4 separate regions of the Homo sapiens genome follow, and regions 1, 2 and 3 are each linked to region 4. The links are contacts of gene promoters, found by promoter capture Hi-C in blood cells and fetal thymus (Javierre and others, 2016). All regions are on one chromosome and are shown on one strand. The core of a region is centred on a gene start or on the middle of the fragment in contact, and the rest is flanking DNA. Distances in the headings are between cores, read along the strand shown.

The links. Contacts are between HindIII fragments. The CHiCAGO score rates a contact against its expected background, and 5 or more counts as called.
Region 1: a contact is called between the fragment with the promoter of C15orf61 here and the fragment with the promoter of SKOR1 in region 4, in 8 of 17 cell types (naive CD4 T cells, total CD8 T cells, non-activated CD4 T cells and 5 more). The highest score is 8.2, in naive CD4 T cells.
Region 2: a contact is called between a fragment that was not itself captured here and the fragment with the promoter of SKOR1 in region 4, in 5 of 17 cell types (activated CD4 T cells, total CD4 T cells, megakaryocytes and 2 more). The highest score is 5.5, in activated CD4 T cells.
Region 3: a contact is called between a fragment that was not itself captured here and the fragment with the promoter of SKOR1 in region 4, in 3 of 17 cell types (naive CD4 T cells, non-activated CD4 T cells and activated CD4 T cells). The highest score is 5.9, in naive CD4 T cells.

The regions. Positions count from the first base shown.
Region 1 is chr15:67,518,393-67,524,052 of GRCh38, reverse strand. C15orf61 (chromosome 15 open reading frame 61) reads right to left here and starts at 2,922. Exons shown (of 2, transcript NM_001143936.2): 1 at 2,459-2,922. The coding sequence starts at 2,804. It overlaps IQCH-AS1 (IQCH antisense RNA 1), which reads left to right and starts at 2,209. Exons shown (of 6, transcript NR_040052.1): 1 at 2,209-2,534; 2 at 4,951-5,053. RefSeq lists enhancers at 2,496-2,615, 3,256-3,335 and a silencer at 2,726-3,075. The HindIII fragment of the contact is 4,154 bases long and covers 1-3,507 here.
Region 2 is chr15:67,539,415-67,545,943 of GRCh38, reverse strand. MAP2K5 (mitogen-activated protein kinase kinase 5) reads right to left here and starts at 3,241. Exons shown (of 22, transcript NM_145160.3): 1 at 2,474-3,241. The coding sequence starts at 2,608. It overlaps MAP2K5-DT (MAP2K5 divergent transcript), which reads left to right and starts at 3,314. Exons shown (of 1, transcript NR_186334.1): 1 at 3,314-4,876. RefSeq lists a silencer at 3,106-3,225 and enhancers at 4,099-4,148, 3,801-4,301, 6,335-6,424. The HindIII fragment of the contact is 1,416 bases long and covers 3,628-5,043 here.
Region 3 is chr15:67,559,790-67,565,499 of GRCh38, reverse strand. It overlaps MAP2K5 (mitogen-activated protein kinase kinase 5), which reads right to left. Exons shown (of 22, transcript NM_145160.3): 3 at 2,150-2,217. Among named protein-coding and RNA genes, the nearest start is that of MAP2K5, 20 kb to the right of the region's middle. The HindIII fragment of the contact is 166 bases long and covers 3,534-3,699 here.
Region 4 is chr15:67,820,858-67,827,042 of GRCh38, reverse strand. SKOR1 (SKI family transcriptional corepressor 1) reads right to left here and starts at 1,534. Exons shown (of 9, transcript NM_001365915.1): 1 at 1,334-1,534; 2 at 1-1,107. The coding sequence starts at 1,440. LOC124903570 reads right to left here and starts at 3,666. Exons shown (of 4, transcript XM_047433429.1): 1 at 3,604-3,666; 2 at 3,000-3,084; 3 at 1,641-2,404; 4 at 1,459-1,530. The coding sequence starts at 3,666. The coding sequence ends at 1,459. RefSeq lists an enhancer at 1-266. The HindIII fragment of the contact is 26,599 bases long and covers 1-6,185 here.

The DNA.
Region 1 (5,660 bases), core at 1,673-4,172, 300 kb after region 4:
TTTGAAAAATCACAAATACAGAAATAAACGGTCAATATATTTTCAGCTAAAATCAAGGGCTGATCAAAGATTACTAGCTTAATAACTATATTATGTCTTATTAAAAAATAACCAGCAACCATTAGCAGTGATGCTGTTTGACAGGAGATGGAGTTATGATCTGAGTCAGAAATTCTGTATTTTTTTCCCCTTGCTGTCTGTTTATTTAATGCAGTCAGACTAATACTCAAAATGGGAAGGTTTGCCACCTATATAACTTATATATTACAAAATCTTTGTAGCACACATGCTTTGAAGTCTATAAGATTCTATGAAAAATTCAATTTTTTCTGAAAAATTAAATTTATATCTGAAACATGTAACATCAAAAGAACCTCCAAATCAGTTCTTTGCATAATAATTCACTTTGAGTCAGCTGAACAGTAGGTAAACCACTGTCAAATTAAGCACTTTAAAAAATTAGAATTCCTCAGTAAATCTCATTCATTCCAATGGTAAGTTGCTTTTCTTAAATCTCAATCTACTTCTCAGCAGGATACCTAGACTGGTAAACCATCAGTAAAATGTCAGCTTCCATTGAAGGGAAGACGGAGGAGAAAAGGAGCAAATGGGTAAACAGAAATCTTTATTATTTACAAAATGGAAAAATGAATTTGGAAGGGAAGAAGAGGAACAAAATCCTAAGTATAATATTAATAGGATATGTACTTTATCACCCAGAGAGACGATTGTACCTCACAGAATAGGAAAGGACCTATTATCTAATTCACATCCCCTCTACCTTCAGACAAAAATTAAAAATAAACGTTACCAGATGTGTTCACCACTTTAAAATATTTTTTAATTCCCTTTATCAGTATATCCCAATTTGTATTAAAGCATGCATGAGCAAAAAGTTGTCCTTTTTGCTTAACTTAGAACTCTTACTCCCATTTTAGCAGGATTTTTAGAATGTCCAAAAGACCATACAGACCATTAAATCACTCTCCCACATTAATAAACAAAACAAAACAAAAAACACTACAACTGTTGTTTCTTTCAACTTTAAAAGGTTTTACTTTTCTATGTGTGGAATGTTCTGAGTATCCACTTTTTTTGGATGTCTTAATCTCTAAATCTAAAAGAGAGGCCCCTAATCATTAAGGTGCTCTTAAACAAAATGTCAACACTAAAAATGTGACTTTAAAGGAAAAAAAGGCATTTGGCTCATGGTTTACCTATAACTCTCCCGTTATGCTTTTCCTAACCTATTATTCTTTAGGGAAGAATGATTTCTTACTTATGAAAAATGCTAAAATAAACTTATACTTCTCGAATCTAGTTAACACTCCAGTCTTTCCAAATAATTTCGAATTGAATTTCCTAAGTCACCTCACCCTTCAACTTCAACCAACCTCCAAAGTAGTGGGCATGCTCTATACAGTCCATCAGCCAAATAATAAGAGGCATTTTTAAAGGATAACACGTTGCTAAACAATTATCTCCTTACAGGACAGTCCAGTGGAGTAACGGCTCAAAAAGCCCACGACTGACATATGTGTTATTATAAGCACAAATACACAGACTATTTTTAACCTTAATGGACGATCAGATTATGTAATAGTATTAGTAGTACGGCTGCGCAGGGTTTAGTTTTAATCCTGGCTTTAAAAACCTGGCTGGGTAACATGGTTCATTCAGCTCCATGGCTAGATTTTGAATCACTGAAATCTAGATTGATTTTATGCCAGCTATTAGTAAGTTCAAAACATCTTGAGGCCTTCTGTTTTCCCCTGACCTATAAAAGATACACCCATGTCCATGTTCGTACCTCCCTCTTCTGTCATTAAACCAAAAGAAAATAAACACCTAGTGACAGTAAACATCCTCAGGGCGTCTCCATGAAAATATACAAATATTAAAGATCTTTAAAAATCTTTTAGGCCTAGCACCTCAGGAAGCTGTTATGTCTGGTGAAAACCTTTGGTGCTTTTAGTAAAACGAACTTGCCGGGAATTCATACAAAGAAAACAAAAGAAACTTAAAAGAGTAGTTCCAGTTATTGCAACATAAACGCAGCTGCAAAGTGATGTTCACGGGAATGAGTCCTGCCATGCAGTAGGACGGATGTCAACTTCAGAGCCACTTTCTAGGGGGCGTTTCCTGACGCCCCCTGGCTTACTGCCCAGGCCAGGGGTCTACTCTGGTTAACATGGGCAGGACAGGAGGGCGACCCGCCCCTCCCTAGGCCCGAGGACGCGCCCGCAGCAGGCGAACGGCTTCGGGTGCCAGGAGCTCAGCAAGCTGGGGACCCCCTGGGCGAGGAGTACAAAGGACCCCAGGCGAAGCCGGCGCCGGGAGGCAGAGCTGACTCCCGCGGGACTCTACCGGCCTGCGAGCGTTCGTCACGTGCTCGGTGGCTGAGGGGCCGTCCCGGCCGGGCGGGCTTCACCGCGTGGGCGCGGCAGTCGCCACTCACCGAGGTTGACGACCTTGAGCGCCGTGAAGAAGCGGTTCTGCCGGGCCAGGTCCTGCCAGGGAGCCTTGGAGCAGTGGTACTTGATGAAGGGGAAGCAGCCGGTGCGCAGGACGTGGTAGTTGGCGCCCTGCACCGGCCAGTTGAAGTGCGAGAGGCCGAACTGGTCGTTGCGGACGGCGCTGTAGGGCACGCAGAAGGAGGTCCAGTGCGGCAGGCGCCGCTGCAGCAGATGCCGCGTCAGCACCTCCGAGGCGCTGGGCTTGGGGCGGGCGGCGGCGCGCGAGGCCCACGGCCTACACAGCAGCAGGCGGAGCGCGACCTCGTGGGCCCTCCTCAGGGCCTCCATGGCCCGCCGCGCCGGGGACGCAGGCTGGTGTCCGCAGCCGCTGGCGCGCAAGCGCGCCCCCGGGCGAGCGCCGGGAAGGCCAACCGGCGCCGCGCGGGTGCCCGAGAGCCCCCGGTGTGCGGCGGCGCGTGCGCACAGCGGCCCCGTGGCCTCCCGCTGGGGGTGGAGTCCGGGGGATGGGAAGCGTGAGCTGCGCGAGGCGGAGGGTCACCTGCGTCAAGGAGCTGGTTTTGAGTGGCCAGGTGTGACCTCACGCCGTCATTAGTAACTCGGGCAGGGGAGGGATTCGGGGAGGTCTCATCAATTTGGGCCTGAGGAAAATTCAGGTGGAAGACAATTAAATAACTAACCACCTCCGCAAGGTGCAGAACTCAAACCCAAGTCTCCCTCCCACGCCCTGGGCTCCAGGGAAGCCCTTGGGTGTTGTTGTTGAAACAGGACGAGGCGTGACCCCGGGTCTGCGTTGTTTGGTAAGGCCGGGAGCACTTTTGTGTGTAGGTCCTCGCTGTCGGGTTCACTGTTTAAAATTAGTCCCAGAGATTTCAAAATCAAAAGTTTATTTAAAAACCTCACGTGTCTCAGTGCAGCGTCCGAACACACAAAGGCACCTCCCTCTAAGAACCTGGTAGACGGACCAGGAGCCTCTTATCGAGCTTTGTGGACCTCAGTCACCCATTACCAATCCATTACTTTCGGAAAAGCTTTGCTCAAACTTTGCGGCCTCTTGAGGCAGTAACTTACGGACAAAACTGCTTTTAGAAAAGGATTTCCTCTTTTGTCCTAAACTCATTTTGTTTGGAGAGGCCATACATAAACAAGATGATGTGTCTGAAACCACCTTATGTAAATGAGGTACAGTAATTACGCGTTAAGCATCATATAACAATTACTATCGTTGCTAAAAACTCAAGGGGGATGTAGGATAGTATGGCGAAATTTTATATTCCCCAGTTTTTTGTTTTGTTTTGTTTTGTTTTTTTGAGACGGAGTCTCACTCTGTTGCCCAGGCTGGAGTGCAGTGGTGCAATCTCAGCTCACTGCAACCTCTGCCTCCCAGGTTCAAGTGATTTTCCTGCCTCAGCCTCCCGAGTGGCTGGGATTACAGGCGTGCACCACCACGCCTGGCTAATTTTTGTATTTTTAATAGAGACGGGGTTTCACCATGTTGGCCAGGCTGGTCTCAAACTCATGACCTCGTGATCCACCTGCCTCGGCCTCCCAAAGTGCTGGGATTACAGGCGTGAGCCACTGCACCAGGCCTATTCCCCAGTTTTTATTGAACATTGAGCACCCACCAACATATGCCGAATCTTGAACTTTACCTTACAGAATTTGAAGTTGAACTTTACCTTATAGAACTTGAACTTTATAGAATTTCTTTTTCTTTTCTTTTTTTTAGAAAGGATCTCACTGTTGTCTAGGCTGGAGTGCAGCTGCTCGATCTCGGCTCACTGCAACTTCTGCCTCCTGGGCTCAAGAGATCCTCCCACCCTCAGCCTCCCAAGTAGCTGGGACTGCAGGTGTGTGCCACCTACACTCGGCTGCTTTTTTTGGTATTTTTTGTAGAGGTGGAATTTTGCCATGTTGCCCAGGCTGGTCTTGAACACTTGGGCTCAAGTGATCCGCCCGCCTCGGCCTCCCAAAGTGGTGGGATTACAGGTGTGAGCTTCTGCACCTGACCAAATTAAATTTTGAAAAAGAGTGGAGTCCTTTTTCAAACGAAATCTGTTGAAGGTCCCCAACATATAAAGTTGGTTAAAACTTATGCTTTAGGCCGGGCACGGTGGCTCACGCCTGTAATCCCAGCACTTTGGGAGGCCGAGGCCAGTGGATCATCTGAGGTCAGGAGTCCGAGACCAGCCTGGCCAACATGGCGAAACCCTGTGTCTGCTAAAAATAGAAAAATTAGCCGGGCGTGGTGGCACATGCCTGTAGTCCCAGCTACTCGGGAGGCTGAGGCAGGAGAATCACTTAAACCCAGGAGGCAGAGGTTGCAGTGAGCTGAGATCGTGCCACTGCACTCCAGCCTGAGCGACAGAGCGAGACTCCGTCTCAAAAAAAAACAAAAAAAACAAAAATAACTTATGCTTTATTACTAAGCATAAGTTCAAACTTTTTTTAACTTTTTATTTTACTTATTTTTTAGGCGTGGGTTCTCACTATGTTGCTTAAGCTGGTCCAGAACTCAAGCCAGTCTCTCACTTCAGCCTCTTGAGTCGTTGGGATTACAGAAGCCACCATGTCCAACTGTAAGTTCAAATTTTTTATATTAACTTTATAGATAAAAAACAAAACAATGAAACTTCAGTGTGTTGTTGTCTTGGATTTTCTTTTGTTTTGAGCAGAAAGGGGATTCATTGGAGGAAAATTAGGTAGCCCAAATAGTAAACAAGAAGTCTAGAGAACCAGGCTCAGAAAATGGGAAGGAACGAGGAGAGTCCGAACAGCAAAGACATAGATAAGACCAACAGGAACTAGTCTGGCGAGCATGCCATTGCTGGCCCCACTGCCACAGGACTCTTGATCCTGTTGCTTGCAAAATGTTGAAGCTGGGGGTTGTGGTTGTGAAAGTGGATCCTTTGAATTGAGTTGTTCTTATCCCCAGCTAAAACAGTGGAAAAGCCAGGGGGAGAAAGCACTCAGGACATATGACATTACTTTAGAAATGTAGTTCTCGGCCGGGTCCAGTGACTCACGCCTGTAATCCTAGCACTTTGGGAGGCTGAGGCGGGCGGATCACGAGGTCAGGAGATCAAGACCATCCTGGCTAACACGGTGAAACCCTGTCTCTACTAAAAATACAAAAAATTAGCCGGGCGTGGTAGCGGGCGCCTGTAGCCCCAGCTACTCGGGAGG
Region 2 (6,529 bases), core at 3,086-5,585, 280 kb after region 4:
AACTTAGAGATGCTCAAGAAACAGAAGACCCAAGTCCAATCCCTTATAATAACAATCCCATCAATAATAACAACACTAATGGAGCGCTTACTATGTGCTAAGTTGTTCTGAGTGCTTTACATGTATCAACTCAAGGAGTCCTCAGAACTCTAGGAGGTAGGCATTACTTTCACCCCTCCCCAACTTTTTTTTCACAAATAAAGAAACTGAGATACAGAAGATACTTGCCCCAGTAGTACAACTTGCAAGTTAAACAACCTGGCTCCAGAGTTTGTGGTCTTAAACACTGGGCTATTCTTGAAATAATCACATAACCAAATAATATAATCACATAATAATCAACCTTCCATTGTTTTAAATGAGTAAGAGAAAACCCATCTTTCTCATCACAGTCACAATCTCACATAATCTTTCCAAGTCTTTGAGGAAGGTACAAGTTTCCCTGTTTTACAAATAAGGAAACTAAGGCTCAGAGAGGTAGACTGACTTGCCTAGTCAGTGGGACAGCTTGCAATTAAACCCAAATTCCTTGACTCTAAACCTAGTGTTCTGTCCACAGAACCATAATTGCATGCATCCTCTTTTAAGCTCCCTTCTTAAACAAGTATTTTGGGGTCCTATGAAGAAACAAAAACAAACATATCTATCTCCTCCAGAAGTTTACCATCTAGTGGAGGAGACAAAGAATCATGATCAAACATGTGCTTTGCTGGGGGACCCACACAAAGCTGTGACGACACAGAGGTGGGGCACATAACCAAGAATGACACAGAGAAAAAGCACAACTTGGCTTGGAAGGACAGGTGGGAATTGACCGGTGAAGAGCAGAGTGCAGACAGCCTGGACACCTGGGAGAAATGAAAATCAACCTATGTAAGTGAGGCACAGAAGTTTATGGGGCCGTGAAGAGAGATGACACAGGTGCCAGGCAGACAGGGGCCAATCCAGATGTGCCCAGAGGACCACATGAAGGAGCCTGGGCCTTATCATGAGGGGAAATCTGTATGTGCATGACTGTGTGGAGAACTCCGGATACAAAGAGAAGGATGGCATTTGATGCACAATATGGAAAGCTCCTGGTCAAGGCACCCAAAAATCTGCATGGCCTGGGCAGTCAGTAACATCTAGAACTCAAAATGAAGTTATAGAAATCAAATTTTGATTAAGTTACCCAAGACAATGAAAAATCACATCACAAATCTTCCTCTTCCCAAGATCCTGCCACCTTGCCCACTCTTAACTTGCAGGTAGTGATGTGCTTTTCGGAATGTCCGCTTCTGTCTTCCATGCCTCAGTTATTCTGCATGTAGAATGGGCACAAGGCACCCTGTCTATCTCAAATGAATACCAGAAAGATTAGAAGCGGCTGCAACATGTAGGGAAAGAAACCTACTAAGTCAATGAAACAAAATTTTAGTTCTGGTACTGACTCTCCCACTCAGGAGCTCACAGCTTTGGAAAAGCCATTTCACCTCACTGCTCCTCAGTAACTATCTGCAAAAAAGAAACATCAGCTGAACAGGCCACCTACAGTGTTACACTCTGCTCTAAAATTCCATCATTTTATTTGAAATATATTCTGAAAAATCTGAATGTAAAATATCACCAATTCTAAGATGCACATTTTCCCTTACTTTTACCGTCTCTGAAACTGGACTCATTTTAATAACGGATGATGTGTCATACTGTCATGGTTAGCATTTTTTTCTAAGTAAAATGTCTTACATTCAATGATGCTTTAAGTTTGCTCAGGCTGGGCACAGTAACTCACACCTGTAATCTCAGCACTTTGGGAAGGCCGAGGCAAGCAAATCGCAGGAGTTCAAGACCAGCCTGGGCAACATGGCAATACCTCGTCTCTACAAGATACAAAAATTATCCAGGTGTGATGGCATGTGCCAGCTACTTGGGAGGCTGAGGTAGGAGAATCGCTTGAGCCCAGGAGGCAGAGGCTGCAGTGAGCCGAGATCGTGCCACAGCACTGCAGCCTGAGCGACAGAGTGAGGCCCTGTCTCAAAATAAATTAATGAAACAGTGTGCTCAAACATGGTAAGTTAAAGTTGTCCTTTTTCCCTTTCTCAGCTGGTCACCAAGTTCAGAGAACTCAGTAGAAAAACAAGGCTGGAATCTGTCCAAGGACATTCCCCGAAACACTTGGGGGGAAAAAACCTCTCTTCTAGATTCAGCAGTTTGCATTTGCGTGGTTGTGTCTATATGTGTGTCCCAGCCCGGGCCATGAGCTCTCTGAGGGCAGGGGTTCAGTCAGATTGATCTATCTCCCCAGGGTCCTAGACATTTGCCAGGTTTTAGTGGTTGCAATTTATCAATGCTGTGCCTGAAGCAATAAAACTGCCTCCACAGGAAGCCAGCAGTAGCCATTGCCACTGGCTCAGGTCACCAGTGGTCAAGGTGCTGACTACTCAAGTCCCTGAGTCCCCCTTGCTGGCATCCGGACACTGAGATTACCACTCACCAGCACATCCCTGAAGAGTAACTGCGGCCCGGAGTGCACTGTCCAGTCCACCGCGCCACTATTTGGGATCTTGATGCGAATTACCAGCACCTGGTTCTCCATGGCAGGAAAGGGGCCAAGGGCTAGCCACAGCATTACAGGTTAAAGAGGCTCACATCCTGGGGTATGGGAAACCCACTGGCCGCTGGTTAGGAGGGGGCTCCAAGAGGTGACAAGGGGAGTGACGGGCAGAGGACAGAGGGTGAAAACAAGGGAATGGAGGATGAGGGGGAGGGAAGAGGGGAGGGGTGATCAGGAACGCACCCGCAGGCACCGAGCCTGCCCAGGCTGTCGGGGGTCTGAGGTGTCTCCCGGGGAGGGTGCACCGGGAAGCGGGCAAAGGCCCGCAGGAACTAGCGGAGGTCGGAAGGTTCTGGAGTTGAGCGAACGCTATGGTGAAGGTCTCTGCCGCCGTGTGGGTATGAGGAGGCAGCAGGGCAAGGACTCGGTTTGGGGGAGATACAGCGGCAGGTGTCCACCGCTCGTCAGTGGACTAGGAGAGGGTCCTCGACTGGAGGGGACTCAGTCCGGGGCTATTAAGAAAGAGCCCCAGGGCCGCCACACCACGGAGAGTCCCCGCGGGAGGTTCAAGGGGCGAGTCTTCTGCCCCACCCGGAGACACAGGGCGCGGCGCGCGCAGGCTGAGCTCCGGCCACCCGAGGCCGCGCGGACTGGCGGCGGCTGCGGCGGCGGCGACGGCGGTAGCGGCGAGAGGAGGAGGAGGAAGGCGGCGGCGACACTGTTACTCCGGAACCAAAACGCGCGGCGCCGGAACCCCGGGAGCCGACGAGCGGGACCCGCCTCCCGCGGCGCCATGTTGGAAAAGGGCAGCAGCTCCCGGGAGGATGCGCCCCCGGCGTGGGAAGCCGAGGAACCGGCGCGCGGCGCGCGGCGCGTGGCGCGTGGCGAGTCGGGGAGAGACTGGTCTTGCTCGCTCAGGAGACCCTCATCGCCCACAGAGCGCCCGCGGCGACCCGGTCACGGCCCTTCCATTTCCTGACCCTGCTTAATGACAGCGAGGTGAAAACATCTACCAAACGAAGGGTAAAAGGCTGGAGTCCGCCAAAAGCCAATTTAAGGCTTAACATTGCAGACCGTTTGTCTTTACAAAAGCTTCAAAGACGGGGCTGCAGCTCCCGGTTATCCCCACTTTGTCAAGCCATGAATCTGAATGTTCGTGGGGTTGTGTGCATCGAATCAGCAAGAGCAAGGCAAGAATTCAAGAAATAGTTCTTTTTTATCCCCCCTTCCAAGTCACAGGTTCAGAGGATCATCATCTTTCTCCCACATTAGCAAAACATATTTGCATTTTTCAGTGAAGTTCTTTACCGCACGAGTGCCCTAAAATAGCAAACAGTTCCCTGTTCAAAAGCAATAGTAAAGAAATTCGCCGAAGAGTTTAATTGCCTGGGGACAGCTGCAGTAGTCGCATCATCGTCTCTTATTAAACTGTTGCAGAAATATTCGGTCTAGTCCATGTATTTTCAACTAAATAGCACTGCTTACGCAGTTGGTGATATGGTGATATCACGGAAGTAGCAATAAACCTTGGTTATCTTTTTTTTTTTTTTTTTTGAGACGGAGTCTCGCTCCGTCGCCCAGGCTGGAGTGCAACGGCGCGACCTCTACTCACCACAACCTCAGCCTCCCGGATTCAAGCGATTCTCCTGCCTCAGCACTACCACCCCCACCAGCCCCCAACCCCTGCCGAGTAACTGGGACTACAGGCGTGCGCCATCCGTGCCCGCTCATTTTTGTATTTTCAGTAGAGACTGGGTTTCACTATGTTGGCCAGGCTGGTCTCAAACTCCTGACCTCGTGATCCGCCCACCTCAGCCTCCCAAAGTGCTGGGGGGATTACAGGTGTGAGCCACCGCGCCCGGCCAACCTTGGTTATCTTCAAATGCCTTGTTACCTCAGATTTTAAAGTGCATAAGGTTGTAGAACGATGGTGCCTCTACAGAAGTTTCTTTACAAATTGTAATGTGTAGGTTCGTCCTTTATTTCTTTCTTATGAAGGTGCACGAATTGGCTTTACTTTCTGGGGTTGAATTTTGTATAAACTCGGTTGAGGAGGCTTGTCAGTTTCCCTTCTAACAGTAAGGTGCTTGATTAATGTGAGAGAAAAAAATTAATGTTGGTCATTTTCAGTTACAATACCAAAATTTTTTCTGCATACTTTACTCTGAGTTACTTTTATATTTAATTTGAAAGGCCATTGTAGGAGATAAATTATCACATTTTAAGTTACTGTAAATCAATAGCTTAGGTAGAAATTCATTTAGTCAGATCCTTCAGATATTCTAGGAATTTCCCCTTTTCACCTGCACTTCACTTCTGTGAAAAATAAACCGTTCATCAAAAGTCCTCATGTACTTTTATTAAAAGTTCATTTCCTATTATTTTAGAAAATAGACCACGAAACTAGAGATTTTCTATGAACCTGTGATTTGTTAAAATGTCTCTTTTATTCGAAGTACCGTGGGGAAAACCAACTCAATTTGCCAAATTTGCATACATATTCTGAAGCTTTTCTTACACTAATGGCAAACTCATATTTCTGTTCCAATATTTGCAGAGCCAATATAATTACACGTCAGCTCTTCATAGCCTTTATGTAGTAAGAAATCTTAACTTTGATGATTTGAGCAAGGATTTTTCCAGAAAGTTATAACTCTCATTGCGAGAAGCATCATAATCACTGATAATACATTCCACTTGATATCATAAATGACAAAATATAACTTTCTGATCTTTACCAAATTGAATACTGTCTAAATTTAAGGAATATTTAGTATTTAACATCGAAGTTGCATGTGATCTTAAGAAGTTTGCATTTAGTACTTTTTTTCATTTTATTTTATTTTATTTATTTATTTTGAGACGGAGTCTTACTCTGTCACCCAGACTGTAGTGCACTGGCGCAGTCTCGGCTCATTGCAACCTCCACCTCCCAGGTTCAAGCGATTCTCCTGCCTCAGCCTCCCAAGTAACTAGGACTATAGGTATGTGCCACCACGCCCAGCTAATTGTTGTACTTTTAGTAGAGACGAGGTTTCACCATGTTGGCCAGGCTGGTCTGGAACTCCTGACCTCAAGTGATCCACCCGTCTCGGCCTCCCAAAGTGCTAGGAATACAGGCGTGAGACAGCGCGCCAGGCCTTTTTTCTTGTTAAATGATACAAGTCAGAATAGTCACTCAGGTACTGGCTGAGATAGTTTACTAGCCATTAAGCAAACTTACTGTAAAAAAAAAACTGTGCTTACTTGTAGTGTTCCTACTTGAGGGATTTACTTTTCACTAAGTGTAATAGAAAATCCCTCCCCTCATGAAGTTATATTCTGATGGGGAACACAGACAAATGAGTAAAATATATGTTAGATAGTAGTAAATGCTAACAGAAAAATGAAATCAGAAGGGAAAATGGTAAAACAGTAAGTGCACCAGTGTGATAACACTAAGGAATATGAAAACTGGCCTATATTGGCTTCAGTTAACTGGCAAATTTAACTGAAAATAGACACATTACTGAAAAGTTAGATGTCTAGTGATTTTTTTCCTTGTGATAAAATACACATAAAATTTACCATTGTACTCATTTTGAAGTGTGCAGATCAGTAGTGTTACATACATTCATTCATCCTGTTGTACAGCCAATCTCCAGATTTTCATCTTGCAAAACTGAAACTCTATATTCATTAAACAACTGCCCACTTCCCCTTCCCTCCAGCCCCTGGCAACCACCAATCAACTTTCTATTTCTATGAATTTGACTACTCTAGATACCTCATATAAATAGAATCATCCAGTATCTGCCTTTTTGTGACTGGCTTATTTCACTTGGTATAATGCCTTCAGGGTCCATCATGTTGTAACATGTGTCAGCATTTCCTTACTTTTTTTTTTTTTTTTAAGATGTACTCTTGCTGTGTCATCAACACTGGAGTGTAGTGGCATGATCTAGGCTCCACCTCCTGGGTTCAAGCAATTCTCCCACTTCAGCCTCCCAAGTAGCT
Region 3 (5,710 bases), core at 2,367-4,866, 260 kb after region 4:
TCCCAGCACTTTGGGAGGCCGAGGCGGGTGGATCACGGGGTCAGGAGTTTGAGACCAGCCTGGCCAACATGATGAAACCCCGTCTCTACTAAAAATACAAAAATTAGCCAGGCATGGTGGTGGGTGCCTGTAATCCCAGCTACTCAGGAGGCTGAGGCAGGAGAATTGCTTAAACCCGGGAGACAGAGGTTGCAGTGAGCCAAGATGGCACCACTGCACTCCAGCCTCGGTGACAGAGCAAGACTCCATCTCGGAGAAAAAAAAATAAATAACAGTGATGACATAAAAAAAATCCTGCAAAGAGGAAGGTGGGGGAGAGACAGTGTAAAACAGTAAATGAGCAACAGCTTGGGCATGAAAAGAAACTGAACTTAAATTCCATATTCACATTCATACTAGCTCTAAGACCTTGGGCTTATCTCTTAACCACAGCTTCCTCATCTAAAAAATAAGGATGATAATATCTGTCTTACAGAGTGATTATTAAAACTAAAAAAATTAAATACCTCAAGCATTTTGTATATAGCAGTAACTTAGAAATGGAAATCATCATTATCACTGTGACCACACCCACTAACATTTTCAAAAAGCACAATTTGTAAGATCATACCCAAAAGTACATATCTTTTGCATGTGGTTAAGTTGAATACATAATGAAAGTATATTGATGTCAGTTCTCTGCAATGGACATATGTGAGAAAATTAGAACCCATCTGTGTGTGTGGGTTTTCTAAAAATAAGCATGTCACATTCTCAGGAGAGTTAGCCAATCTATCAATACCAGTGGTAGACCTTTTCAGCAGACAATCCTACTCTGCCTTTCAAGGTACTGATGAGCCCAGCTCTAAATTCTCAGTACACAAAGACTCTCACATAAGTTAATGCGAAGTCAATGGGAAATTGACTTTTCCTATTCTGTGCTGGTTGGAATGCAATGCTCTGTTAATCATCCTATCCTTCTTGTTCTCTATTCTCCTACCCTAAATTAAAACTATTGGCAGAAACCCATACAGACAGTTTACAGTTTTCATTACAATGAAACAATATCCTGGCTGAAGCTGAAGTCTATCAAAAACCTACAACCTAACTGTTGACTAAGATTAGGGTCTCAGTGAAAAGCAAGAGCCCTGATTCCATCATTTCCACATGATTCCAAATGATTCCATCATTTGCATTTGTATAGAACTTTTAACTTTTCAAAGGGCTTTCACATCTATTCTTCTATTTGATCATTACAATGGCCCTGTGCAGTATAAAGGACAAGTATTATTATCCACAATTGACAGATGAGGCAACTACAGCACTGAAAGGTTAAGTGATTTGCCTAGGGCCAAGAAACCACAGTAGAGCTAAGGTCTCCTGACTTCCAGTCCAATGCTCTTTCTACCAGGCCACGGGAAAAGGTTTTGTAAACAGATTACAGACTCAGATATAACAAAACAAAACTTGAGAGGAAGGCACAAATCAAGACTCAGGTAACCTATGTCTCCTCATGATAGCTGAATTTTTCAAGCTTAGTATTGAAGCTTTAGAAATATGCCCTTTTCTCTTGTTTACTTCAGTATCAGATAACTGTTAACGCAGATTTTCAGTAAAATTTTAAACACAAAAGAAAAGTCGTTTCAGAATATATTCAGATCACTTTGATTCAGTAAGTAGCCCTGTAGTTCATTTTCGGTGGGAGTATTATGGGTAGTGCATAAATAACCAACAGTACATCTTTAAATCGTGTATCCATATTAAGCCTGCAGCTACATTGTAAACTATAGTCTGGAAGGGTGAGAGAGATCTCCAGTTGAAAGTAGATTTTGAAAAATTTTTTAGAGCCCAGGGGTTCATTTTTAATGAGCCGTTACTTTAAGTACTGCATAAAAAATACAGGAAATTGATAGTCCATTTAGTCTGCATCATACCTAATGCAAAAGTCATTAAGATGCATTATTCTTAATGTTTATGATATGATCAGTAAGTGTCTTTTGAAAATAATGCCCTTAACTTTCACATACGGAAATCCTTGAAACCTTTACCTATTATATAGAAAAATGTATGACAACTGTGATTTATTTACTCGTCTTCACTATGCCCAAGAAACAGCATCCTCAATCACGTTAAGATTTTAAAAAATAGTCTTCATTTGTCGTATACTTACATATGACAGCATTGCCTTCATTTCCTCATCACTTCTCACTGTAATTCGATCACCATCTTCATCTTCATCTGTTTAAAAGCACATAATGCAAATGATAAGGTGTGCATTTGTTTAATGCACAAAGGGAACATAATATAAACGGTTTATTACAATGTGATATTCTAACCCTCAACACCACATTTTGGGGGTATGTTGACATTATTAGTTTGTTGTTTTGTTTTCCATTTGGAATATGATCAGAATCTCAATATAAAACTTTCTTTTAGGGATAGCAGAAAATTAAAATATTGCTCATGTCATTCACAACATATCTCTAGGTTAAAGTAAATATAACTGGAGTATGACAAAACAGGTTTGGTTAGCGGAACTAAAAACCAACGAGAGGCCAGTCTTGTTCTACTATCCACACTTTTTAAATCTCCCAAACAGCACCATACCCCGATTTCTCCATTCTTCCTCTCTCCCAGGCAATCTATCATCTCACAACAGCATGATAAAAATGGCTAACACTTACTGAACACTACAATACATGAGGCACTGTGATCTATGCTTCATATGCAATACCTCCTTGAAAACCTCATAACAAACCTGCGACATGAACATCATTATTATTATTCTCTTTCCACAGGAGAACCTAGGCCTAGTGCAAGGTTAACTTGTAAAGCAGCTCTAATACAGGTCTCCCCCATTCTATTTAGCAGCTCTTTTTCCGAACAGTTTCACTTGTTTTGCATACTCTCCAGCCATAGAAAGCTTCAAATGCTATTCATGCTATTTTGAAATAATTTAAGTCTTAAGGCTGGAGGACAAGACTTCACAAACTACATAACCAGAATGTGTAAATTTGAGTAAGTATCATCAGAGGCCACATCTAGAAATAATGTATTTATTTCATGATACTTCTCTTATTCAAAGTAGTTTTTGAAATATCTCTTCAAAACTGCTTTAAAAACCTGAAGATAGACTATGTGAGAATATTAAATCTCATTTTTAACCCAAAATGAAATTGTTGGCCTGATCACTTACCCACATCATCTGCCAAGCATGTCTAAGAATGACTTATGGCTATTTCCAAATATATAGTTAACTCTTCATCCTTCTATAAAGATTTGTCAACAGTGAGGACAGCCTATGTAGTAGACTGTAAATGCACAGTTGAAAGAAATGCCAAAAACGTCTGGAGCAACGTACAGAGCCTCCCAAGGGGACAACTTGGAAGGGGCAGGCTCTCAGCAGGATGCCTCAGTTCTGGTGTTAACAATCGGAATTATTATTTTTGTTCACTCTTGGGCATATAATTGCTGATTTGATCATATAGAAAGACTGTTCTGATCCCAAGCCTGGAGAACCTCAGACAAATCTCTCATCATGAAGAGAATAAGCTTGCCCAACATGGTCAGGGGATGCTTACTGAAAGTACAGAGGGAGTTCAGTTCAACACAGGGATCTTCCCCTACCACAAGTCAGTGGGTCTTCCCTCCTGTCTGGCTGTAGTTCCAAGGATATCCCCCTGCTTGGTGACTAGGCTATGGGGACCCTAGGAGGAAGCTTGTGTTCTTTCACAATTAGCCTAATTTCAAGCAAAATACTTTCTCCCTTTATCTCTTCAGTGGCCAACAGCAATCTGATAGCATGATCGAAACCAGCACTTGGACCAGTCCTGTTCAGTGACCCATAGCTCTCACTCTTTCCAAGCACTTGTTTTCTTTCCAAGCACTTGTTTCTGGATCCTGGTTCACTGCTGCAGAGTTCCCCAACTCAGTGTGAATCGGTATCATCAAGATCACACTGTCTAAATCTAGGAGAGTCACTACCAGTATTCTGCTATCAAGAGTTGCCTGTTTTCAGAGTAAAAGGCATACACTGGTCACTTGCAGTAATGAAGAAGGCACAGTCCTGAGAGATGTTACACACATAAAGATTCTTTCATTCGCTTTAGATATAGAATCTCTAGAGCCAAATTGGGGGAGAAATGCCATTCCAGCTGTAGAGAGAGAAGAAAGGAGTCTGTCTATATATAAGTTCTAGAAACTAATATTTTCAAGGTTAAGGCGAAAGTTTTCTTAAAAATGCAGGAGACAGGAAAAAACAAAGTACAAATGATGTAATGTTACATATCACCACACATGAAAGCACTTTACATTTTTGCTTTAAAACCAGGTCAAATTCTCTTTAAATGTAGGCTAAACTGATTTGTTCTTTATGAAGTTCTGAACTTGGCATAAAAACAAATTCCAGCCTGAATAAAGTAGTTTTTTTAAAATAAATCTCATTTCTGCAACTAAGCTAGCTATAGAGATTATGGTTAAAAAGAGACTGCTTATATTTGAATTTCAATATACCCAAGACCTGAATAAGGTATTGTTCACATAGGATGGGCAAGTGCTTATATTTTGGTAAAACGAGTGAAAACCCTTCTTATAATTTATTTAAAAAAAGGGGGGGGCACCGATTACATAAAAATCATTTAAATCACAATCAAGAACAAAAGGAGAGTTCTTCAACTTCTCAAAGCTAGAGCTTGAACCTTTAAGGCTACTTAAACCAAAATATTTTGGAATTCTAAATTTCTAAGAAATCTCTTGAGGGATTATTTCAGAAGAAAAAGATCTGTGAAAGAAGTCAGCTACCAGAATAATTTCTTGAAGAGAAGTTGCATAAAAAGTAGCTATGAAACATTACAAGAGCATTTGCTTAAGTGGACAGAAAACTGAAGCCAAAAGGTTAGAATAGCTTTTGACATCAACCCAGTGATAAAATGTTGGAACTCTCCCCTTAGGGGGTCTGACTCCAAAAGAAGATTTCAGATAAGTTGAAAGAGGCATTCTAATAAAGGCTGGGGATAAAATCAGGCTTATATGGCATACTGATGAATAGTTGTTGTGGGTTAATAGGATACCTAGCTTTATATAGGTATTGGTTTTCTTTACAAACTGCTCTTTGGGAGACTGTCTGATTTGCTCTTTAATATCTATGCTTAGTCGTTTTATTAAAGACTCCTTGTTTTTGTCCAAGAGGAAACTGAGTTAGAAAAGTAACCATACCCATGAGAAGACTGGTGGCTCCAGCCAAAAGGCAAAAGCTGAGCTGTCTCTGACCCCTTGATGGCAGCCCAAGAGCAAACCACTCACCTTAACCTGTAAAGCAAAAATGCACTTCTCTCTAAAGACAGTGAATTGACAGCTACGAAAAGTTAGTGAAGGGTAAGAAAGCAGAAATACATACTAAGCAAATTACTATGACAGTAGCCTAAAATACTTTTCTGAACAAAAACTTGGATATATACAGCCCATCTAGCCAAGATTCAGGCTAGCTGCCTATCAAGCTGGATAAGCTGTAAAAATTACACTAGCTGGAACCATAAATCATAAAAACTTACTAAACTGCCACAAAGTTTCAGAGGTACAAATATGTTAGAGAACAACACTAGAAAGTAGTGGTACTAAGAAGCAAGAAAATAATTTGAGCTTTTTCTATCTTATACATGGAGGTTCTTTGCCATCTGACCAAAAAAACGTTACCGGATATGACCAACAAAAGGGGTGGGGGTAGGGGAGCAGA
Region 4 (6,185 bases), core at 285-2,784:
AGGCCGAAGGCCGTAGGGAAGCCGTAAGGATGGGGGAAAAGTGGTGGGGGCAGCTTTTGCAGGAGCCCAAAGCCTTTGCTGGGCACCGGGATCACCGGGTAGCTTCGTACGCCGGCGCCGCCACCGGGCCCTCCTGGGCCCGCCGGGCCACTAGCTCCAGTCGCCAGGCCAAGTCCGCGCTGCGGGTGGGGTGGAGGTGGCCCCGGAGGCCCGGCAGCCTCATCTTCGCCACAGCGCAGGCTTTTGTGGGGCGGCGGGCCTGGGGCCATCTCTGCACCGCACCCTGGGCCACCGCCGCCACCGCCGCCAGCACCACCCTTCCCCTGCCCACCCGACCCGCCATTGGCACCGCCTCCGCCGCCTCCTTGTAGGGAGAAGGTCCGCTTGCGCGTGCCGCCATTAAACATGGCCTTGACGTCCTCCCAAGCATGGCTCAGTTCGTCTGTGGCCGACTTGTCACTGAGTTTGAGGTGACGACGCCAGGAGTTGAAGTTGGCGGCATCGGGCTGCGTGTACTTGGCGTCGGGTGTTCGGTGCGAGTGGAAGATGAACTTGTTGGGCGAGAAGTACATGCTGCAGTAGCCGCACTTGATGCACTTGGCACGAGAGCTGTTGTAACGCGCAGGGATGAAGCTACCACGCGAGCCCCACGCGCACTCGTGCACCACATCGAAGGCGAAGTTCTCGGGCAGCTTGGGTGGTTTGTGCTCGCCCAGGAACGACTTGCACAGGCGTTCGGCCTCTCGCTTAGTGATCATGCCGCAGCGGCGCGACGAGATGGGCATGGCCCCGGCCCGACGCAGAATCTCCAGCTGTACCGGCGTGCACTGCACGCACGTGATGCCCAGGGCCACGCGGCGGTTGTGGATCTCATTATAGCTGTAGTTCTTGAGGAGGGTGTTGGAGATCTGCGCCAGGCATAGGCGCTCCTGGCCGTCGATGACCAGCGACACAATGGGCACCCCGTACAGCGACGTCTCGCCCACCTGGTTGGGTTTGAGAGCGCTGGAGCCCGAGTACGGCTGCAGCTCCTGCTTGGAGTTGGGCGAGGAACTGCCCTCGCGCCCCGGCCCCAGCTGAGTGGTGAGAGCCTCCATGCCGCCGCTCCTGCGAAATAGAGAAAGCAGAGAGCAGATGAGCCATTTTCAGCGCCGCCGCCGAGGCTCGGGCCCGCCCAGCAGGGCGCTCCGAGTTGGGCGCGCGGGGGATACTTGGCAGTGGGGAGTCCAAACTCATTCACCCCCTGGACAGGCGTCTTTTGTTACTCAGACCCATGTTGGCGCCGTTAACAACAGCCCCCGGGGCTTGGGGGAGGAGAAGGGGTAAAGGAGACCTCAGGAATGCCCGGGCTGCAAGGAACCCAATCCCGTTTTCGGATTGGGAAGGAAGTGAAACCCAGATACGCAGAGTGACTTGCCCAAGGCCACACAGCAAAGCCATTGCCAAATCCTGGCTTTTTCAGCGCCCAGATCCGTGCGCCTTCGGCAACCCTCGCAGCCGGTGCTGCCGGCCCGGGTCCTGAAGCCCGGACTTCGGGGATCGGCCGCCCCTCTGCTCAGTCGCGCATGCACGCGGGCGGGCGGGGGCAGTGCAAGGAGGGGTGGGGAGGGGGGAGGGGCGGTCACTGCCCATCTCCAGACAGCAGGGGGTAGAGGGGGGTGAAGAGAAGGAGGGGGGTGAGGAGAAGGAGGAGGGAACCGTGTCTGCCAGGGAAGGAGAGAGGCGGAGGCTACCGCTGTTCGCGGTGCTGAACCTGACCCTCTCCAAAGCGCTCGGTGCGCACCCGGACCTAGCGCGGCCCCCACCGCACCCAGCTTGGTGCCCGAGCCGGCTTCAGGGGACAACATTGCCAGTTTCCACAAACCCGAGCTTCTCCTCTCACGGCTGGCGCCCGCGTTCGTTGAGCAGAAAGATTTCGGCTGGATATATAAACCGTTTTCTTTCCAGCTATTAGTGAGACCAGGATCCTGCAGTTCTAACCACATTTTCTGCATTTTTAGCTGTATTCCAGACCAAAGCTGGTTTCCACCGAGGTCAACGTGTGGGACAGAGAGGTTCTCAAGGAACTTTGTTGGGATCCACTTCTTAGCTTCCAGTCGCCCACTCCTTGAGCTTTCCTCCTTCAGATATACGTTTCCCACTCGGGCCAACTGCAGGATTCGGGGCTCTGGGCTTCCTCTTTGAGGGGCATCACCTCTCTGAGTATCCTTCATGCCTCGCTGTCCCGGCTCATATGGGCTAGAAGGAATCTCAGCCATCTTCGTAGCCATTGCAAGGCTCCAGGCACACAAGTTGCTGCTGGTCCTTGCACTTTGCTTTCTGGCTGAGGCAGGGAGGGAGCTGTGCAGGCAGACCTCAGCAGCGGGGGTACTTGGGGACTGATGTTTGGGGCCCTCTAGGTCGCCTGACCCAGCCACATGTCCTCAGACAAGCCAGGCTCCCATCCGGCCCAAGGCTGCAGGCGCTCCTGCGGCCAGGGCAGCCCAACCCTGAGGGCTCCTCCCCTGCAGTCGGCCCTGAATGTAACTCCGTTTTCAGAGGGGCAGCTCCAGACAGGGGATCCCAGTTCAAAAGCCTTCAGCAAGGAGACTGGAATCTTCTGTTTATCTGTCTCTCTCCCTTCTTCTCTATTTGTCTAGGAGACCCTCATTTGTCGATCTTATCTGTCCCTGAGCTGTCTCTGCCGGCTCGTTCCTCTTTCTCTCATCTGTTTTGTACCTTCTTCAAGTATCAAGCTATTTATGTATTATCTGTCTGTTTCATCTTTATCTCCGAGGATCGAACTAAAATAAGTTGACCCTTATTTCGCGTTGAAGTCCTTTATATCATTGTAGGAGGCAAAAACACTGTCCTAACTCCCCGGCTGACAAGCCTCGCGCCCTCCTGGAGGTGGCTGGAGGGCGCGCAGCGCTGGGAAATGACAGCTTCTCGGTTTCTCGAAATCGGCAACTATGCCTGGCCCGCATACAGTGAAGACAGCGCCCGAGCCGAGAGCGTACCCCAGTTGAGGGTCCTGGGTCCCTGCGCGGTTTTCCCTGAGTGAGAGGAGGGGGGTCCGGGCCCGGAGTCAGAAGAAGGGGGTCCCTAGGAAAGGAACGGAATTTCGGGGGCCAAAGCGGAAAGCACAGGCGAAGAGCCATATGCAGCGACAAGGAGCAGCAGCCAGAGCAGCTTGAGGAACCCCCGTCGGCTCCCGGAGCTAGATGGACGAGCTTGGGGAGGGCAGCGAAGCGGGAGACTGGCAGTGGTGGGAGCGAGGCGGTGGTGTCTTTAGGTATAATCATAAAAACAACAGCCACAGGAGCCCAAATCAGAACTAAACGAAAAAAAAGCTGCAGGAGCAGAGCGCGGGGGCGGCGGGCTACCGGACGTGGGTACTCACAGTGCGGCGGCGGCTGGAGCCGGGCGAGCGGTGAGCGGAGGTGCGCGGCGGGAGGAGCGGCGGGCGGGAGTCCGGGATCCGCCGGGCTCTCCGGGTGACGGCGCGGCCCCTCCCCGCGCGCGCGCACAGCCGTGCTCCCTGGTTCTCCGCGCTCCCACCCGCGGCCCCTCCCGCTCTCAGCGGGCACGGGGCGCCGGGACCCCGGGCGCGGAGATGCGAACCCTGAGCCGTTGACCCCGAGGCCGGGGACTGGCCGGAAGAAGAGGCCGAAGCCTGGAGCGCATGGCGCGGCGGCGGGGACGGCGCGGTCACAGCCCGAGTGGCGGGGCAGGCGCGCCTGACAGCTGAGAGCCGGGGCGCCACACCCACCGCCCGCGCAGTCGCTAGCGCCCTCCCCGGGTCCGCCCGCCCGCGGGCCACGCGCGGCGCCCGCCGCCTCCCCGCAGCCCAAGGCCTGCACGCCCCAGGTAAGCGGCCGCACACCTGCGTCCAGCACCCTGCACCTGCGTCCCGCTCTAGCTGGAGAGGCCAGGAGGGAGGAAAGGCCCTGGGGCCATAAAGTTTGTCCCCAAGAACGAAGTGGGGAGGGCCCAGTGCTCCCGGCCAAGGAGCCAGTTTTGGTCTGGGCCAAAACCGGGTGATGGGGCTAAGGGGGACTCAAGAGGAACGGGCGCAGGGAGGAGTACTTCACTTTCCGGCCGCAGGCGAGGGCCAGGGTGGTGGAGCCTAGAGTGGCCCTCGGGAACCAGTAGGGTCACCAGAGACCGGGACAGGGACCTGGGTGCAGGGCAGCGAGGATGGCACCCGGGAAGGAGCAGATCTGCCTCTCCCATGCTCCTGACTTCGGTGGGAGGTATCAAGAGAGAGCTCTAACCTGAGGAGGGGCGTTCTCCTGTTTCCGTCCCTGGGCAGGGGACTTGGGAACTAGGTTTGGGGAGCCCTCGGCCTTGAATGCCTCCCTTCGCCATCACCAACAGGCCCAGGGCAGGAGCCAAGTCATCGTTGGGAGTGATCTGAGGTTAACTACGCTCTCAACGCTGCTAAGCCAGTTTCCCCAAGGGGGAGGTCCAGTCCTCTGATGCTACAGACGCCCCTGGGTACCTCCTCTCTCTCCTCAAAGCTCCGTTTCTCTCCATCCCTTTCCTGTCTCAGTCGGTCTCTCCGTCTTCACCATTCTTTCCCCTAACGCCCCACTGGGTCCCCTTCTCTTCCTCTCTCAATCTGTCTCTACTTCTTCGTTTGAGTTACTAGTCGCACCCCGCCCCTCTTAGCCCGCACCCAGGCGCCCCGTTGGCCGCTTCCACCACCTCCCTCCCTGCCCCCCTGGCATTAAGTGTCCTTAATGGACACGTTAATTAAACTGTAATTAATCATACTGTCCGGCCCAAGTTTGAACAATTACCCTAATCAAACAGAAGTTAATAATGGCAGGGATGGCCTGGGGCGCGACGGGCCGCCTGGGCAGGGGGCGCAGCGGCCACGGCGACTACCGGCGGTGGCAGCAGCGACGAACGCAGCCTGTCCTTGGAACCCGGGAGGCGCCATAAATCTTCCGCGGGTAGCAGCGCGGGGTCGCCTTCTCCCCTCTCGCCTCGTTTTTCCCTCGGGCTACCGGGTATGGTCCCCTTTCCCTCCTGCGTTCCAACTCCTCTGGGGCGTGTCTCCCCTTTTCCTCCACTTCTCCCCTCTCTTCCTTTCCCTCCTGGCTCGCAGAGACCCTGGGAAGGGACTCTGGAAGCGCGAACCGATAGCTCAGGCCTGGTGAAGGGACTGAGGAGAGGGCAGGCCCAGCCCACAGACTCCTTTGCCTTCTTCCCGGCTACCCTGGCTGACGTAGGTTACCGTTCTCCTAGGCCCCGAAAACCTCTCCCAAGTTTGTGGGCTCTGTCTCCTCTGAGGGTCTCTTTTAGATCGCGTTCTTGCCCTCTTCCCCCTCCTCGGTTCCGGTCTTTCTGTCTCGGATCTCCCTGCCTTTCCCTTTTCTCCCAGGGGAGTCCTGGAACCCGCTCGGCCCCTTTCTTTCTGCCTCTGGCCCCTCCATTCGGGTGTCTTTCCCAGGCTGTGCCTCTGTCCCGCTCCAACTATCCCGCTGTCTTTCCTCCCACACCTTCCCCGGGGAGAACACAGGAACCTATTTTCCTTCCCAGTCCGAGAGCTGCCCCCAAGTCCCCGCCAGCTCATTCCCTCTCCCTCGGCCCAGGCTCCCCCACCCCATAATTACAATCTCGTTCGGTAATTATTCTTAGCCTCCTAATGATTTTTTAAAAGGCATCTCAGAATTCGGCCTGGTGGTGACAACGATCCTGGAGCCAGGACGCCCCCAGGGTGCCGGGGGGTGGGAGGAAAGAGAGGATGGGCTGGGTCCCCCTGAGCAGGACCTGCCTGTCCTGCCTCTGTTGTACAGCGAGGGCCAAAGACGCCTCCGTTTCCAGCAGCCCGGCCGCGGGGGGCCCCCAGGACCTCTTAGACAAAGGGTACCGCCCCGCACCAGGGGGTGTGCAGCGTCGACTCTGCGTCCCCGTTCAGCACCAAGCTACGGACAGCTCCCCGCGCTCTGGCCAGTGCCAGGAGACCCACCCAGCTCCTGTCCCTGGTCTGAGCTGGAGAAAGGCGCGTGGACAGAGGCTGGGGAAGCCCCGCTGCTCAGGGCTGGGCACCGGGGAGCAGGTCGTGGGGGTAGGAGCTGGGGCTCTACTATGGGCCGGCGTCCGGCGGGTTAATATCACCGCGGACCGCACTTTACCGATTGCAGAGCCGATTCTCAACAAGGGCCCTGGGAATAGATAGGAACCACTTATTCCCA